3 separate regions of the Homo sapiens genome follow, and all the other regions are linked to region 1. Evidence: promoter capture Hi-C in 16 types of primary human blood cells and fetal thymus (Javierre and others, 2016). All regions are on one chromosome and are shown on one strand. The core of a region is centred on a gene start or on the middle of the fragment in contact, and the rest is flanking DNA. Distances in the headings are between cores, read along the strand shown.

What was found. The method cuts DNA at HindIII sites, captures the fragments that hold promoters and counts their contacts. A CHiCAGO score of 5 or more calls a contact.
Region 2: a contact is called between a fragment that was not itself captured here and the fragment with the promoter of MAP4K5 in region 1, in 1 of 17 cell types (erythroblasts). The highest score is 5.2, in erythroblasts.
Region 3: a contact is called between a fragment that was not itself captured here and the fragment with the promoter of MAP4K5 in region 1, in 1 of 17 cell types (erythroblasts). The highest score is 5.3, in erythroblasts.

Annotation. Positions count from the first base shown.
Region 1 is chr14:50,531,319-50,534,804 of GRCh38, forward strand. MAP4K5 (mitogen-activated protein kinase kinase kinase kinase 5) reads right to left here and starts at 1,251. Exons shown (of 33, transcript NM_006575.6): 1 at 1,130-1,251; 2 at 624-840. The coding sequence starts at 731. It also overlaps a transcript of ATL1 not described here. RefSeq lists a silencer at 945-1,574. The HindIII fragment of the contact is 11,447 bases long and covers 1-3,486 here.
Region 2 is chr14:50,179,413-50,182,717 of GRCh38, forward strand. SOS2 (SOS Ras/Rho guanine nucleotide exchange factor 2) reads right to left here. Exons shown (of 23, transcript NM_006939.4): 6 at 3,051-3,194; 7 at 1,160-1,270. Among named protein-coding and RNA genes, the nearest start is that of SOS2, 51 kb to the right of the region's middle. The HindIII fragment of the contact is 862 bases long and covers 1,625-2,486 here.
Region 3 is chr14:50,155,723-50,158,872 of GRCh38, forward strand. SOS2 (SOS Ras/Rho guanine nucleotide exchange factor 2) reads right to left here. Exons shown (of 23, transcript NM_006939.4): 11 at 2,843-2,924; 12 at 1,277-1,399. Among named protein-coding and RNA genes, the nearest start is that of VCPKMT, 41 kb to the left of the region's middle. The HindIII fragment of the contact is 1,279 bases long and covers 755-2,033 here.

The sequences.
Region 1 (3,486 bases), core at 1-2,500:
AATCCCTGAAAGGAACCGCTAAAGTAAAACAAAACCCAGCAAGTTAATATCACATTTTTATCGCCAACCAAAAACAAACGATCAAACTTCCACCAGGAAAAGCATCTTTTTATATGGGATAATGCTTGCATAAATGTCACCAATATTAGTTTGCTTACAGTTAAAGCTCAGAGACAGGGTTTCATATGGCTTTTTTAGTCAAACTCATCCATTGAAACAAATTTTTTTAAAAAAATGCAAATGTCTGAATGTCAATATTCTTTCCTGTCTATCTTCCATGAAGCATTTTTCCATGCTAACACTAGAGCATCCTTCGGTGTAATTCCACAAGCAGATTCAAATTCCCTTCAATACCATAAATAAGCCCTATTAAAAAGCCTTTAAACCACAAAAAAAGTGCAACAGCGGTTTGCAACTGTGTGGTTAGTTCTGCCTGTTGGTAGCGATTAGAACAAGCCATGAGTCGAGGGTGCTCAGAACCGAGTAAAAGGGACCCCGGCCGCTTTCTCCCCAAGAGGCAACAATAAAAGCATCCTCCTCTCGCCCCAATACTTCGCAGGAAAGTGGCCCCATTCCCGGGACCCAGTCGACCGCAGGAAAAAAGCACGGCCAGCCTCACTTACCTTATAGACGTCCCCGTAGGTGCCGCTGCCGACCCTCTGGACGAGTTCGTAGTCCTGCTGCGGGTTCCGCCTCAGGATGTCCGCGGCAGGCCGCAGCGGGGCCTCCATCTTCACTTAGGGCCCGGCCCCCGCCAGCTCACCCCGCGGCTCCCGGATTCCCGCTAACAAGCACGAACGGCGCCGCTTCCCAACATGGAGCCTCCGCCCGCAGCTCCGTCTGCACGAGGGACGAGCAAAGGCTGGTTGGCGTCGCAGGCTACGACCCCCAGCGGCCCGCGCCCTCGCGGCCCGGCCCCTTCCCTTCCGTCCCGCCAGGGGCCGTGGAAGAGAAAGGGGCCTGGAAGGGCCCCCGGCGCCCCGTATCCCCGTTCGGTCTGCGGCCCTTCCCCCTCCCCGGCCGCCCGCGAACTGCCCGACGAGGCCTCCCCGCCAGCCGGGGCCCAGGGCCGGCTCCGTACCTAATGGGGGCGGCCCCGTCTTTGTTGAGCGCGGAGCCCGGGACCTACTTCCTAGACCGCACCCGCGTCCTCCTCCCGCGCGCCGGCCGGCAGCTCCGGGTTTGCCGTCGCCGCCGCCGCCACTCAGCCGCTGCACGGCGCGTCCTCTCGGGGGCGGCGGAGGCGCGTACAGTCGCCGCCGCCGCCGCCGCCGCACCACGTTCCCCACCCGGGGCTGCGTCACCGGGAGACACGTTCCCAGCCAGCATGGGTCGGCGCCCAGCGGCCCGCCCGAGCACTCCGGCCGCAGAACCAGAGTGCCGCCCTGAGGCCTGCTGAGAACACAACACCCTCCCGACCGCGCCACCGCGCCCCCCTAGCCGGGCGCGTCCTTGCAGGGCCTGGGCTGTCTCCCTCCCACTCTCAGAAATAAGGCACACGCCTGGGCATTCGTGGGCCAACGGGCCTTGGCTAAACCGTCCCCACATTTGTCAGGTAGGCCTGTAGGGTGACGGGTAGAGGAAGAAGGGCGATGGGAACGTAGCCCTCCAAGTTAAACACGGAAAAGGTACGTTAAGGGCACCGGGCCAGAAGTAACCTGGCAGCGGGGCGCCGGGGAAGGAGGTGGGGGAGTGCCAGGTTAACTAAGTCCCGGCACACCCTACTGCACCTTCCTGTTTTGCAAACCGATCCCGGTGGTACCAGTTTGAGGCTGCACTGCACACCTGCACAACCTGCCTTCTACTTAGTTCTTCTGAGACATTTCTGAAAGTCTGAATTCCTAGGACTGCTCAATGACCTTTGTCCCTGTTGGGCACACGCAGTGTCTCATCGCTGGTATTGCACCTTTAATGAGACCAGGAGTTCCGCAAAAGTAAAACAAAGGGGTCACAGACTGGTTCTGGTTCTACCACTTCCTCAGTATGTGCTCTGGGACAAAACAGCATATTTGGCAACATCTCGGTGTCCTTATCTGCAGCTTGAAGAGGGTAAGATTTTGCATCTGACACCCAGGAAAGTGTTTATAAAGCGTTTTACAGGATAGTAAGGGGGGTTATCGAATATAAGAGGTCTTAAAATACTTAACAATGCACAGCATATATGGAACAGGAGTTCGGGGAAGTAATTTGGCTGATATTTCACAAGCTGTTTTGCAGTTTCAGTTCCAGTCTTGCTCTGAAGGTAGAAATTAAGTTGCCAGTGTTACATTATACTGGCTAAGTTATTTCTAGAGCCTCATAGAGAATTTGAACAGAAAAGCCAGATAACACTCAGCCACTGCATTTAGTGACTGAAACATCATAAAAGAGCAAGTTGGAGATGTTGGCTTGTGGCTTTGAACATCCAATTTTTAATTCTGCTCTTGAGAATTAAAATACTCCTTATTGTTGATAATTGTATAATGTATAATAAGGAGTAATTGACAATACTCCTTATTGTTGATAATTGTATAATGTAGAAATTAAATTCGCACCTTAACAGGACAGGGCATATATGTATTTTCTTGTGCTCCACACACAAAGGGCACTTATTTGGGGAACATAAGTAAGCCCAGACTTACATGCTCCATGGACAAAGCCTATGTGTTTGCTGCATTGAAAAAATTGTTGAAGAACAGTTCCTTCTTTCAAAGATTCTTGGCACTTGTTTTGGTGGGCACATACTTTTGGCTTCGATGACTCAAAATCTCTTCAAATGTTCTATTGGTATCTTAGCACTTGTTTACTGTCATAGATTCATTTGAGATTTTTTTCCTCTGGCCATATAAGCACTGATCCTTTATCTAGTCTGAAATATATTTATTCTTACATGTTTACACTTGCGTTACTCCAGGGAATTTCAGGCAGCACACAGAAAACACTTACTATAAAACAAGATAAAAATAAGTGGGCAAACTAGTATGACGTTAAAGAGAAGGAAAATACGAAACCAGAACAGTGTGACAAATCGGCCAACCAGAGGATTTTATAGTGTTTTTGAGATCAAGAGTAACCAATTGATCAAGAAGAGGCATATATTTTCCTAATGCAAAGACTTCCAAAAATTTTATTTAATGAGCCTTCTTCATAAAGTAGAAACTGAATGCCCAGTTTGAGACGAGGACAAATATCCTGACAATCCTTTAAGCATGTTATTCTTGAAATACAGCATTTAAAATGAATTAGGCAGTGAAATGTTTGAGGTCATAGGCTTCAACAAGACCCTGGAGTGCGGATATTTTATGTTGCCAGTAATGGCAGATCCATATGCTTTGACCATCAACCTAGAGGCAGATAGCATGGAAAAAGTCAAGACTCTATGTGGTGGTTAAAAAGTCGAGACTCTATGTGTCTGCTATAATCATTATTTTACTTGTACTGCAATTCATGCAAAGAGGAAAACATTTGTTTTATACTAACTCCAAAAGAATCTTAAGGATTTTTAAA
Region 2 (3,305 bases), core at 806-3,305, 350 kb before region 1:
CTCACTCTGTACCCAAGGCTGGAGTGCAGTGGCGTGATCATGACTCATTGCAGCCTTGACCTCCCAGGCTCAAGCAATTCTCCTGGCATGCCACAGGTGCACGCCACCACACTCGGCTAAGTTTTTATATTTTGTAGAGATGAGGTCTCCCTATTTTGCCCAGGCTGGTCTCAAACACCTGGGTCCAAGCAATCCTCTGACCTTAGCCTCCCAAAGTGCTGGGATTATAGGCAAGAGCCACCACGTCTGGCTGGAAAAGTCAGTTTAGATGTAGAAGTTTTACATATTTAGCCAAGTATTACCTATGCCAACATAACTTTTGTTGTTAGTGTTGAGATAGTAAAAATAAAATTTTATTTGTATCTCTCCACTTATTTTCATTTTATCTAAGTGTATTCCTGAACCAACTAACTTGCATACTCTCCCTCAATACAGTATTTATCTCCTTTAAATTGTAGGCCTCATAGAAAAATCAGTATGAGTACATAGGAGGTTGAGGTTATCTCAACTTTTTAAGATTTCTCCAAATCTTCCTCCTATAGGGAACATAATCCTGAAATCACACTCCAGATTCATCTTTATTTTTTATTTATTTTTCTATTTATTTTTTGAGACAGAGTCTCACTATTCCACCCAAGCTGGAGTGCAGTGGCGCGATCTCGGCTCACTGCAACCTCCGCCTTCCGGGTCAAGTGATTCTCCTGCCTTAGCCTCCTGAGTAGCTGGGATTACAGGAGCTCACCACCACGCCCAGCTAACTTGTGCAATTTTAGTCGAGACAGGGTTTCACCATGTTGGCCAGGCTGGTCTCAAACTCCTGACCTCAAGTGATCCACCTGTCTTGGCCTCCCAAAATGCTGGGATTCTAGGCATGAGTCACTGCACCCAGCCAAATTCATCTTTATACCCCAGATCTAGTATGTGCCAAATTCTTCTGGTCATTCAGTACTCATGATGTTGTACTATAAAAGATTTCTACAATAAGAACAGACAGAACTCCAGAGAGAAAACAGAAGATAATCCAAAACAGGTTTAGAATGAACAAGATTTGAAGGATTACGAGGATTCCAGAATTACAAATATTTGAAGGATAAAATAGTGAGATATTTATTTGCTTTATTAAAAAAAAAAAAAAAAAAAACCTTCAATTTAAGTTTACCTGAAAGTGTAGAGCAACTGCAGGTCTGGCCATCAATTTATTGAAATGTTCATGAAACTCTGGTGAAAGAATGTCCTGTGATAATGTTTCATAAGGATCAAATGCTTGCTCCTATTTTTTTAAAAAGAGAAAAAGCATTAGGTTTAAAAGAATATATTTTCTACCAATATGGTACAGATTATTATCACTTGATCCCAGGAGTTCGAGGTTACAGTGAGCTATGATTGTGCCACTATATTCCAGCTCGAGCAACAGAGTGAAACCCTGTCTCAAAAGAAAAGAAAGAAATGAAAAGAAAAAAGAGAAGAGAAGAAGAAAGATTTCTTTTCCCATTAGACTGGCAAAAATTAATGGGATATCTGCAGAACCGATATGAAAACAAAACAAATTTTGAAAAAAAGAATTAAAAAGAAAAAGAATAAGGTAATACCGAGTTAGTGAAGGGAAAGGGTGAAGAAAGAAGGAAGCTTACATACACTGGAACTTAGCTGGAAGTGAACGTGGCAAAGTGTTTCCAAGTTCTAAAAATGTATCTAGTCTTTAGCACTACAATTCCACTTCCAGGAATATATCCTTAAAAATGATTAGAATATATGACTGGGCGCGGTGGCTCATGCCTATAATCCCAGCACTTTGGGAGGCCGAGGCGGACGGATCATGAGGTCAGGAGTTCGAGGCCAGCCTAGCCAACAGAGAGGAACACCGTCTCTACTAAAAATACAAAAAATTAGCTGGGCGTGGTGGCAGGCGCCTGTAATCCCAGCTACTCAGGAGGCTGAGGCAGGAGAATGGCTTGAACCTGAGAGGCAGAGGTTGCAGTAAGACGAGATCGTGCCATTGCACTCTAGAATGGGTGACAGAGGGAGACTCCATGTCAAAAAAAAAAATGATTAGAATATCAAGGCATAGTGCAAATATGTTTGTTGCAGTGTTGTTTACAATAACAAAAAAAAAAAGGAAAAAACTCTACAACCTATGGATAATAGATAGTTAAAATATGTTATGGTGTCTCCATATAACATCACATTATTTATACTTAAAAATTGTGTTGAAGTATATACATTAACATGGACAATGTTTATGATATACAGAGTAAAAACAGTAAGTTATAAAATAGTGGGATCCTATTTTTGCAAACACACATACATTCGTATGTATGCACAGAAATATATAAGGATAAGTTATCTCTGGGTGTTATAAAATAAAGTGACTTTCATCTAATTTATATATCTATTTTTCTGAATATTTTTACAATGAGCTACATTATTTTTATAGTCATTTAAAAGATAAAATGATTTTTACTTTGGAAAACATTAAAATAATATAAAGCTTCTTTCCAACTTTAAGTTTAAAATCCATAGAAGGTAAAGAGCTATGGTCAATAAAATGTATCTTCCTTCATCTTGAATATACTTACCACTAAAAAAAAAAAAAAAACCTAAATGTTACTACTCTAGTTTATATACTACTCTAGTATATAAACTTTCACTATAAATATTGCCATAAACACACTATAAAGAAAGTGTCACTATATAGGCAATGTGATTTTAGTTTGTTATCAGTTAAATCTTAAATATCTTTTTATAATGGCCAGTGGTATCTTCTAATTTTCATAAAGAATATCTTACAAAAAAATTTTGTTTTTTGGAGACAGGGTCTCACTCTGTCGCCCAGGATGGAGTGCAGTGACACAATCATGGGCTTGATCTCCCAGGCTTCCTACCTCAGCCTCCTGAGTCACTGGGACCACAGATGGGCACTACCATGCCTGGATAATTATTTTACTTTTTTATGGAAACGGGGTCTCACTATGTTGCCAAGACTCATCTCTAAGTTTCTTACTACAGCATTTAGGGCTTTAATGAGAATATAAGTAGTTTTGTAAACTTACTTCTGCCAAATCTTCAAAACAGCTGCCAGCTAAGGGATGAGGACTGCTTTCATCAGTCATTTCAACTGTGTCTTCAATCAAACCTAAAAGTTTCACAGTCAATTCATGTATATCTGAAATGTTACTAAAAATCTTTTCGATATCCTGAAAAAAGAGAAGGAAGGTTAAGAAATGTGAGATTGAGAATTCTGCTAAAAAATTACTAAATATAAAGAGCAATATAGGCTACTCGAGGCAGACTGCCTATGGAATAGC
Region 3 (3,150 bases), core at 144-2,643, 380 kb before region 1:
ACAGGACTGAGAACACAGCAAATGCTTAGAAATACATAAAGAGCTTATATGACTGAGAAACGAAGATTATACTCCCACCCCCTACCCCACCCAATAGCAACCTCATAAATGTATGTGTCATATCAAGGGATTTAATGTGATTGTAGATAAGTACAAATGCATCACAGCTAGTAGAAAAGAATTACTTATTTATTGCTGATACATAAATAATCTCATCTTCTTATACAAAGAATGACGTTAAAAGTTTTAGTGAAAGACATATAGCTGGGAGCACTATCATTCTTCTAAAACTGCATTTGTTTGTGGCAATTATCCTGGGAAATAAATAACTAATATACTCAGTTCCAAAATTACAATTTATTGGTCAACAGTAATCAAGGAAACTTGAAATTTAGAGAGAAAAAAAATTTAAATTACATATAATTAATAAGATAACTTGGTTTCCAATGGAAGGAGGAAGATAATACTTTGGTTACTTGGACAGTAAAGAGGGCTAAGAGAAGGCGCTTCCAATTTTCAATGCTTAGTGGTACGTACACACACACACACACACACACACGCAAAGAAAGTCAGACATGAGTCTGAATCTTGTCCTGCCACTCCCTTTACATAACTTAGCTCAAATTACTTCACCTTGCTAGGTTTCAATTTCCTTATATATAAAGTAGGAATAGTAATCATGTTGTAAGAATGAGATAAAAAAGATAAAGCATTTAGGGTAATCCCCGGCACACAGTAGTATTTATTAACTGGAAGCTTCTACAATCAAACACATTTTTAGAAATTATTGCAATTAAACTAACAAATGTCTATATATTTTGTGAGAGATAAGTGGGAAAAGGGCTAGAACTTCCACAAATATTATAAATTGTAAAAAAAGCCAGGATTACTGTATGATCGCAAAGGGAAATGAAGGAAAAAAGTGTGAAAAAAGGTTGACAGCAGGAAAGCTCACATGAAATTTTATAATTTTTACTTACAATAAAAAATAGGTATCCTGATACGTAAGCATAACATATCACATGCCAGAGATATGTGATGCAAACATAGGATATTTAAATATTTGAATTTCTTCAGGGTATTTAAGAATAGCTTCACTGAGAAAGAACTCTTTTAGTTTAACTTAACTGCTGTGAAGTTAAAAATATTCCCTATATTTGAATTAAAAGCTGAGAGCTTTTGTGTTAACTATATATTGAAAACTGACACATAAAATGTGTGTGTGTGTGTATATATATGTGTATATATATATATATAAAAAATATTCAAGCCAAACCTAAGTTGTACTGGTTGGACATATTCCTTGCGAAATCTTTTAAGGTCTGCACTGATTGGCTGCTCGCCTTTCTCTATTGCCAATTTGTCTGCGTCAGTAGGTTCTGGCTCTGGAATTTCAAACCTAAGAAGAAAAGCAAAAGGAGAAAAATCCGTTCATACATAATGAAAATACAAGGAGGAAAACAGCAAGCAACCTTCTTTCCTACCACTTCCACGAAAAGTGGATTACTGTTAAACTTCCCTTGAGGTATGATATACTACAAAAAACTGTCCTTTGGCTATACAAAACTGACGTTTTGTATTCTTACTTTTATAAAAACTAAAGTTTTGTCTTTTAGCACTGATAATACAGAAAAGGTCCAGGGAAAAGAGCCAAGGAAAGAATTCATAAGGAATTTAAAGAACATGACAGAAATTGCTTATCTAACAATGTCTTTAATATTTATATTATTAAAATGAAAGTAGGCTAATAAATTTATTTAAATGAGTACAAATTCAAAGAGAGGGCCAAAACCGAATATTTAACAATATTTAAATAATTTACCTAAGTGGATAAGATAAAGATAAAAAACCTTGCTCAAACATAGGAAATACAGCTAAACTATAAGTCTAACGTGTGCTTTCCTTATTCTGGACATGGAAACAACTAAGTAGATCCTCATAGCACATTACACTGACTCAGTCTGGTAAATTTAGTTTGATAAAACAACATAGTGATAGAGATCTAGAATTATATCTTGATAATACAGTTAATAAGCTTTGGTATAATAATAAGTTTTAGTAAGTTTTAAAACGTAAAACTAAAAATCATTCTGGAGTCCAGATTCTACATTTTAAACTATAAAACATTTAAAATGCCACTATAATACTAGGTAAAACAAATTCAACCCAACACTAATTTTTAAAAGTTAATCATAATAAAGGAATTGCTGATTTTTTAGGTTTAATAATGATATCTGATTATTAAAAATGATCCCGTATTTTCTAGAGATACATAGAAAAATATTTATAGATGAATTATGTTGTCTAGGATCTACTTCAAAATAATCATGGGGTGGGGTGTTTAAATTTGTAGGGAAACAGATGAAACAATGAGTTGATAATTACTGAAGGTGGTTGATGAATAAATGGGTTTATTATATTCTTGTATCTGCTCTTGTATGTGTTTTGAAAGTTTTCATAACAAGTTTGTTTTAAAAGTGGAAAGTATTTGGCAAAGTAGTCTACGGTCCAAAAAAAAAAATAGTGGTAAGTAGAAAAGTCTCTTTTAAGAAAATATCATTTTATTACACAGAACAATATTCATTAAAATATAGTGCTTTCATCCTCTAAATTAGTCTTTCTGATTACCACTTGAAATATTTCTAAGAGCTGAAAAGATCTGTGTTTATAAACAGATTTTAGGGAGTACTCCATTTGAAGAGAATAGTAATACTGCCAATTTAATGCCAAATAAAATATGTTCAATAATTAACTTGAGTATTTATTAGGTACTAGGCACTTTACAAAATACAGTTAATTTTTCACAAAATGTCAATATAACTGAAATACATATTTTTCTTACCGTTCAATCAGTAAGCTCAGCAATTCCTGTGGTTTACAAAATGAACGATATGTGGTAAGAAAAGTACGAACAAAATTGGGATCTGAAAAGGCAGAGCATAAAATAGGTTTCATGTTTAATGTATTCAGTTTAATTAACTCAAAGTACCATATTTGGAGGCCTTCCTCCCTTTTTCTTTTTACTTTGGCTCCTCAGATTGTGGCTTTTCCTAACAATCATGGTACTGGCAGGATACCATGGTATCCCTGCCATACATAGAGAAATACTGACATAGAGAATATACTATGGTATATCCTTAATAAGCGAGG